Linked DNA regions of Homo sapiens: region 2 is linked to region 1. The links are contacts of gene promoters, found by promoter capture Hi-C in human tissues and cell types (Jung and others, 2019). All regions are on one chromosome and are shown on one strand. The core of a region is centred on a gene start or on the middle of the fragment in contact, and the rest is flanking DNA. Distances in the headings are between cores, read along the strand shown. Region 1 holds the start of ZNF619 (zinc finger protein 619). Region 2 has its middle 61 kb from the start of TRAK1.

Region 1 (3,937 bases), core at 1,148-3,647:
TAAGTTATTATCTGTAACGCACGAAGATATCACCTGGCACATGATATCATCTAAATCTCAGCACTTACTACAACCACAGATGAGATTGGGGGAACTTCCTAGAAGATTCTAAATGACAAATGTTCCTCTTAGAGATTGTAGCAAAGACTGACAGGTGTGTGTGTACCCCCTTTCTTTCTTAGTATTGGAATCCTAATTTTACTTGAGGTTGCACTCAACCCGGGCAACCAAGTGGGGCCAATGAAATGCAAGTATAAATATTGTTGGGGACTTATGGGAAGGTTCCTAAAAGAGAGAGGTTCATCTTTTTTTGGGCAGCTCCTCTTCTAGCTGGAATGCACACATGATGGCTAGAGATCAAGCAGCCACCTTGGACAATAAAGTGGCCTAGAGCAGGTGAGACACTGCTAGGATGGTAGAGCAGAAAGACAGAGCCTGAGAGCATAATAGGGGAGCTGCCACACTAGCCCTGTATTGACTCTTGATACTTTTGTATGAGAGAGAAGCCTTTACCTCGTTTAATCCACTGTCATTTGGGGTCCTCTTTGGGGAATCTAATCCTAAGTGATTTCTGTACTTCAGGCAAAGCACCAGGAGAGCACAGCATACCCCCACAGCACACTTCCTGACTTGTAGGAATGAATTTTTGCTGAAGTTCTCGAACAGAAGTGGATGGTCCAATATCCACCAAAAGGACACACACATTGTTTTTAAGTCCTTGGGATGGAGCTTTCTCATTACAAGATACATCCATTACATGATAAACTCAGCTTTCTCATTCCATGATCTAGGACACTGGAGAAAAATCCAGTAAAACCATCATCTACCACCAAGAAAACTGGAGGGAAAAGTCCTCCCAATGCTACATGAATTTGTAGCCAAGAAAGGATATAGACTCTCACAGAGGTTAGACTGACGTCTTCGCATTGAGCTAAAGGCACTGGCTTCAGCTCCAAACTCATCATTCCTCCAAAAATACATCTCCCTCATCAATCTACATTTTCCACATGTTTCCAGTTCTGGCTTCACTGTACCTTAACTGAGTGGTCTGCAGGGTAAACTCCTCCCTTGGAAGTGTCTATTTAACCTCAGAAATGGCTTTTCTTTGTGTACTGTGAACGCAGACTAGCACTCCTCAAATTTTAATCTGCCCTTTAATTTTCCAGATCTTGTAAAAATGTAGATTCTGATTTAGGAGATCTGGGGAGGGGGCCTGACATTTTGCCTAACAAGAGCCCTCTGTAATGCAAAAGCTGCTCATCTCCAGGCCACACTTTCAGTTCTCATGAATGCAGATTCCCACTTTCTAGGATAATTCATTCCTTCTTTTCCAACCTACCTGACTCTCCCAAATTCACCTACTCTCGTTCGTCAACTCCCCTCGCATACTGTTTTTACATACTTTATTGAAGGATGTAAAACTAAGCATGAGACTGGCCAAGTCAGGCTACTGGGGCTGTACTGACCTTCCATATCTGTTCTGAGTATGGAAAGCTGAAAGAAAGCTCTGCTCACCTGGAACCACACTGTCTGGAGCATGGCTGATGACCCCTGGCTTCATGCACTGCCCTCTAGGTTTGAAAAAGTAAGAACCTGCGGAGCTAAGAGAGAACCACAATGAGACTGATCTGTCTCGTCTCCTACACTTGCCGCCTCTTCCCCTCTGTCTCCTGCCACTAGCATTGCAGATATTCTTGGCACACTAGCTGCTGTCATTCACCCTCTCCACTGATTCATGGGATGTTGCAAATGCTCCCTCTGCATATTCTCCTATAGATCTGCTTGGTGACACTGGAAACTCTAGAAAGAATATCTGTAAAGTAAGAGTCAAGAACTGCAGTGGATTCGTGGCTGTTTTTTAAAAAAAATTCTTGGCCCCACTATGAATGCATTACTAAACAGTTTGTATTGAATGCTTCTAGTGTTCATGGCAAAAACCCAAAACAAGTCTCTGGAGAGAAAGTAGGATATAACGGGGACCCCTAAACAAACCACAGGCTGCAGGACAAAATATAAGTGGTGACCCAGCCCCGGGTGACAAGGGTAAGACGCTTAATGTCCCAGCGGGTGATGCTGACCGAAGACCTAACCGGGATCTGAACGCTCCACCCTGGGAAGCAGGAGACCCTATAGTCACGGCTCCCATCCTCCCCATGAATACCGCGACCCGAGGACATCAGGCCAGCTCCTCGGAGCAGGAAGGTCGAGGGCGTCTCTGAAGACTGGGGACTGGGCCCAGGCTCTGGCGGCGGCGCGGGCCCCTCGGCGACCTCTGCAAGGGCCCAAAGCCTGACCTCCAGAACAGGTAGCCGAGTCAGGGAAGCCCGGGAAACTCAACCCGAGCGCTCGCAAGGTGGCCAAGACGGAAGCATTAGCTGGCCGGCCGTCGGTCCCTACAGCCTCTCTAGGAAGCCGGGAGGCTGGCCCTTCTCTATGGTTCCCACGAAACGAAACTCCAACCCTTCGCTTCCCTTCTCCACAACCGCTCTGCGCCTGGTTTGTTTGTTTTTTAATTTTAATTTTTTCGTGTGTTTTTTGAAACGGGGGTCTCGCTATGTTGCGCAGGCTGTTCTCGAACTCCTGAGCTCAAGCTGTCCGCCCGCCTCGGCCTCCCAAAGTGCTGGGAATACAGGCGTGAGCCACCGCGCCCGGCCGCTCCTGTTTTTCTTTATTATTTTCTCTTATGTCTTAGTACCCCAACTACATGATAAATTCCTCCATATTTAACAATTTGTAACTTAATTAACTGAATTCCTAATTCCTTACCTAATTACTTAATTCCTAACTTAACCTTCTAATGAATTTATAGCCCCTGTCTCCCACTGAATGACTGTGACCTAAGACCATGGGGTATGGTGTCTCATTGTCTGCGTTCCTGGCTCCACTCTATATGGACTTGCTCAAGTTATACTTAAATCGTTGCCTCAATTTATCAGTTGAGAATGGTAAAAGTTTGTAATTTATAAATTCAGTGAATTAACTGAGTCAATTCATGCAACAGTTTTGTAAACCAAAAATAAAATTCTAAGTCCCCCAACCAACTGAATGGACCACTTCTCTCAGCCAAAACATTCCAAAGAAAACCTGGCAATCTAGTTCAGGCCATGATGGGAAGCAGGGGATCGGACTTGCCTCGTTATGCCCTTGGAATTCAGGCACTACGGACCAGCATTAACATTAAAACAGAGATCTTGAGACTGACTAAAACTTTTTTTTTTTTTTTCCGAGATGGAGTCTTACTCTGTAGCCCAGGCTGGAGTACAGTTTCCCGATCTCGGCTCACTGCAACCTCCGCCTCCCGGGTTCAAGCAATTCTCCTGCCTCAGCCTCCTGAGTAGCTGGGATTACAGGAACGTGCCAACACGCCCGGCTAATTTTTGTATTCTTAGTAGAGACGGGATTTCACCATGTTGACCAGGCTGGTCTTGAACTAGACCTCGTGATCGCCCGCCTCGGCCTCCCAAAGTGCTGGGATTACAGGCGTGAGCCACCACGCCCAGCCCAAAACAAACTCTTTATAGCAATAAGACATCAAATTCTAACCTGACTCTAGTATAGTCTCATGTGACAGATAACAGGCCCTGAAATAAACTGAAGTATTTTACCCTAAAATGTATTTCTTTGACATATTTTGAAATGACCCTGTAAAGCTGTCTTTTGTGAAGAAAATCTACATCCTGTAAAGAATCCCCTTCACTTTCAAAGTGTTTTCCTTGATCCAGTAGAGAATTAACTAAGAGTTTGGCACCTTTTGAAGTCTGGTAAGAAACATTTACAATCGTTTCTCTCTGAAGCCTGCTACCTGGAGGTTTCATCTGCATAATAAGAACATTGGTCTCCAAAACCCCTTATCTTAACTCAGACATTCCCTTCAATTGATTCCAGGTCTTTAGCTAATAACTTTTTTTTTTTTTTTTTTTTTTTGAGACAGAGTCTT
Region 2 (3,970 bases), core at 1,465-3,964, 1.6 Mb before region 1:
TGGCAGCCAGTGTTTTAATTCCAATGGCAACATAGTTTCATTATAAGAAGAAAAGCAGCCTACCACACTTGTTTTATGGGGTTACAAAATGTTTGCTGCCAGACTGGGAGCAAAAAGAAACCCTGAGGAAATAAAAGATATGACAATAGTCTTGTTGCCAACATTAATACAAAAGACAGCCAATGGTATTCATCTGGCTCTTAATTTGTTTGATATTTATTTATTTGGATATCAATAAGACATAGAGGAAAAGCCTGAGAAGAGGCTGGAGGTTGCAAAGATGGTTTTTTTTTTTTTTTTCAGGTTGACCCACTCCGGGTGTATTTGAGCAAAATCTTGGGGCTTCCCACAGTACTTGGCAAGACACGCCTGGCTACGAACAACATGGGACAATGGGCAGCCTCGCTGCACTGCACAGAGGAAAGGAAAGAGGCCTTGCAGCCACTGCCTGGGAAGGAGCAGCACATTCTGCATTAACCAGGCATGCCTCACTCACTGCAATCCCCAAACAAGCCCAACTCTCCGTGTTGATTATTCTTACCATACTCCACCAGAAAGCAGCATGATTTTCTGTCCTCAAATACTTCAGATTCCAAGAGAACTGCACCTTCTAGAGTCTCTACTGATAACCTCAGCCACTTACCCACTTGAAGCATCAGCACACACTTAAAAAGGAAACCCGCTAAGCACTCCTGACTCAGTCTCTCCAGGCCTGCGGGTGAAGGAGCTGATTCCCCTCACTTTTCAGAAGATGGGGAAGAATTCAGACTTCACCCCATGCCCCATCCCTTCCCCGCCCCCTAACCCATGCTGTGCTCAGAGCCAGCAGCTTTGCAGGGAGGGAACTAATCTCAGATTGTTGAGGTGAGCAAGAGTGATAATGATGAGCCTTGGATCAGCTGTTTAATCTTTTTATACTCTCCCTGGTCCCTGAAATTCTGATCTTTACTCTGGGGGCATTTTATTATCCATGCCGTGAGGAAACTGGAAACGCACCTCAGACAGCCCCACTCTTAAAAGGATCATTTTGAAAACAGTAAATTTCAAATGAGGCACTGCATCCAGACACAGCCTAAGCAAATTTTACAACACATATACTGAGGAAGTACTATCAAATCACCTGAAGAATGTTCAGAAAACTATTTTTTGAGACAAGGTCTCGCTCTGTCCCCTGAGCTGGAGTACAGTAGCACAATCATGGCTCACCGTAACCTCAAATTCCTGGGCTCAAGTGATTCTCCTCCCTCAGCCCCATAGTAGCTAGGACTACAGGCGCACACCACCATGCCTGGCTAACTTTTTTATTTTTTGTGGAGATGGGGGTCTCGCTATGTTGCTATCAAGCTATCCTCCTGCCTCAGCCTCCCAAAGTGCTGGGATTACAGGCATAAGCCACCATGTCCAGTCAGGAATCTTTGGAAAACTTTCAATTTTGAAAATTCAAGGCCAGGCACGGTGGCTCACGCCTGTAATCCCAGCACTTTGGGAGGTCGAGGCGGGTGGATCACAAGGTCAGGCGTTCGAGACCAGCCTGGCCAATATCGTGAAACCCCATCTCTACTAAAAATACAAAAAAAATTAGCCAGGCATGGTGGCACATGCCTGTAATCCCAGCTACTTGGGAGGCTGAGGCAGGAGAATTGCTCGAATCTGGGAGGTGGAGGCTGCAGTGAGCCGAGACCACGCCACTGCACTCCAGCCCGGGTGACAGAGCGAGACTCCATCTCAAAAAAAAAAAAAAAAAAAATTCAAATAGCTGAGGTTAAGTGTCACTGACACTGTGCTCTGAGCACATTGTTCCGTTTTCTCTTTGTACTCTGTTCAATCGTTACACCATGCTCAATGATTTGGGATGAAGTTTGAGGTTTACCTTCTTACTTCTGCCAATGAAAGTAATCTCTCAGCTACAAAATAAAAGAACATTCTCCTTCTTCATCCACTACTTCTAGCTTGAGATGAAGATGCTTCCACCTAGTTCTCAAATACCGGGAAAACTTTAACCCAAGCAGTCCCTACTAACTGCCTGACCAACAAGTTACATATATATATATATATATATATATATATATATATATATATATATATATATATTCTTTTTTTTTTTTTTTGAGATGGAGTCTCCCTCTGTCACCCAGGCTGCAGTGCAGTGGTGCAATCTTGGCTCAATGCAACTTCCATCTCCCAGATTCAAGCAATATTCCTGCCTCAGTCTCCCAAATAGCTGGGATTACAGGCATACGCCACCATGCCTGGTCCATCTTTGTATTTTTAGTAGAGATGGGGTTTCATCACGTTGGGCAGGCTGGTCTTGAACTCCTGACCTCAAGTGATCCACCCACCTCGGCCTCCCAAAGTGCTGGGATTACAGACGTGAGCTACCACGCCCGGCCATATATATATATATATATTTTTTTTTTTAGAGACAGGGTCTCGCTTTGTCTCACAGGCTGGAGTACAGTGGCGAGATCACAGCTTACTGCTGCCTTGCGCTCCTGAGCTCAAAAGGGATCCTCCCACCTCAGCCTCCCAATGTTGCCCATGCTGGTCTGGAACTTCTGGCCTCAAGCTATCCTCCTGTCTCAGCCTCCCAAAGTGCTGGGATTATAGGTGTGAACCACCACACCCAGCCAACAACAATTTTTAAGCCCAGGATTTTAAAATTATGTAAATGTTTTCTGACTTAAAAATTCCATTTAGATGTCTGTGAGATCTCGGCATCACCCTCGCCTCTTCTCTCCCTTGGCTGCTCCTGTCCCTCTACCCCACAGGGCACGTCACATCCTTCCACTGCCTTGAAATGCCACCTTCTACCACTCTCCTTCTCCCACCTATCCCAGTGCAAAACCCTCTCTACCATCCGTACTTCCAATCGTGCCTCCCCTATTCTGGCTCTCCACACAGAAGCTGGGGTTTCATTTAAAAAATCAATCAGGGCCAGTCGCAGTGGCGTACACCTGTAATCACAGCACTTTGGGAGGCTGAGGTGGGTGGATCACTTGAGGCCAGGAGTTTGAGACCAGCCTGCCAACATGGCAAAACCTCGTCTCTACTAAAAATACAAAAATTAGCCAGGCATGGTGGCACGCACCTGTAATCCAAGCTACTTGGGAGGCTGAAACATGAGAATCACTTGAACCGGGGAGGCAGAGGTTGCAGTGAGCTAAGATCACACCACAGCACTCCAGCCTGGCCAACAGAGTGAGACTCTGTCTCAAAAAAAAAAAAAAAAAATTCTATCAGGCTGGGCACACTGACTCATACCTGTAATCCCAGCACTTAGGGAAGACAAGGAGGGAGGATGCCTTGAGCTCAGGAGTTCAAGACTACCCTGGGCAACATAGTGAGACCCCATCTCTACCAAAAAAACAAGCAAAATTAGCCAGGCATGGTGGCGCGCACCTGCAGTCCCAGCTACTGGAGGGGCTGAGGTGGGAGGATCACTCAAGCCCAGAAGGTTGATGCTCCCATGAGCTGAGACTGCACCGCTGCATGCCAGCCTGGGTGACAGAGCAAGACACTGTGATATGGTTTGGATCTCTGTCCCCGCCCAAATCTCATGTTGAATTGTAATCCCCAATGCTGGAGGTGGGGCCTGGTGGGAGGTGATTGGATCATGGGGGTGGTTTCTTATGGTTTAACACCATCCCCCTTGGTACTGTTTAAAAGTGTGTAGCACCTCTATCTTTTCTCTTCCTCCTGCTCCAGCCAAGTGAAGTGCTGGCTCCCCCTTTGCCTTCCACCATGATTGTAAGTTTCCTGAGGCCTCCCTAGAAGCCAAGTAGATGCCAGCACCATGCTTCCTGTGCAGGCTGTAGAACCATGAGCCAATCAAACCTTTTCTTTGTAAATTACCCAATCCTAGGTATTTATTTATAGCCATGTGAGAATAGACTAACATACCGTCTCATAAATAAATCATCTAAAAATCAATCAATTCTTGTCACTCCCCTGCAGCTTCCTCCATACTCAG

Evidence for each region. Contacts are between HindIII fragments. The study calls those that stand out against the background at their distance.
Region 2: a fragment that was not itself captured here is called in contact with the fragment with the promoter of ZNF619 in region 1 in 1 of the 25 tissues and cell types used here (lymphoblastoid cells).

What each region holds. Positions count from the first base shown.
Region 1 is chr3:40,475,582-40,479,518 of GRCh38, reverse strand. ZNF619 (zinc finger protein 619) reads right to left here and starts at 2,397. Exons shown (of 5, transcript NM_001145093.4): 1 at 2,162-2,397; 2 at 1,516-1,601. The coding sequence starts at 1,539. RefSeq lists an enhancer at 2,084-2,223. The HindIII fragment of the contact is 8,968 bases long and covers 1-3,937 here.
Region 2 is chr3:42,028,811-42,032,780 of GRCh38, reverse strand. It overlaps a transcript of TRAK1 not described here. Among named protein-coding and RNA genes, the nearest start is that of TRAK1, 61 kb to the left of the region's middle. The HindIII fragment of the contact is 5,858 bases long and covers 1-3,970 here.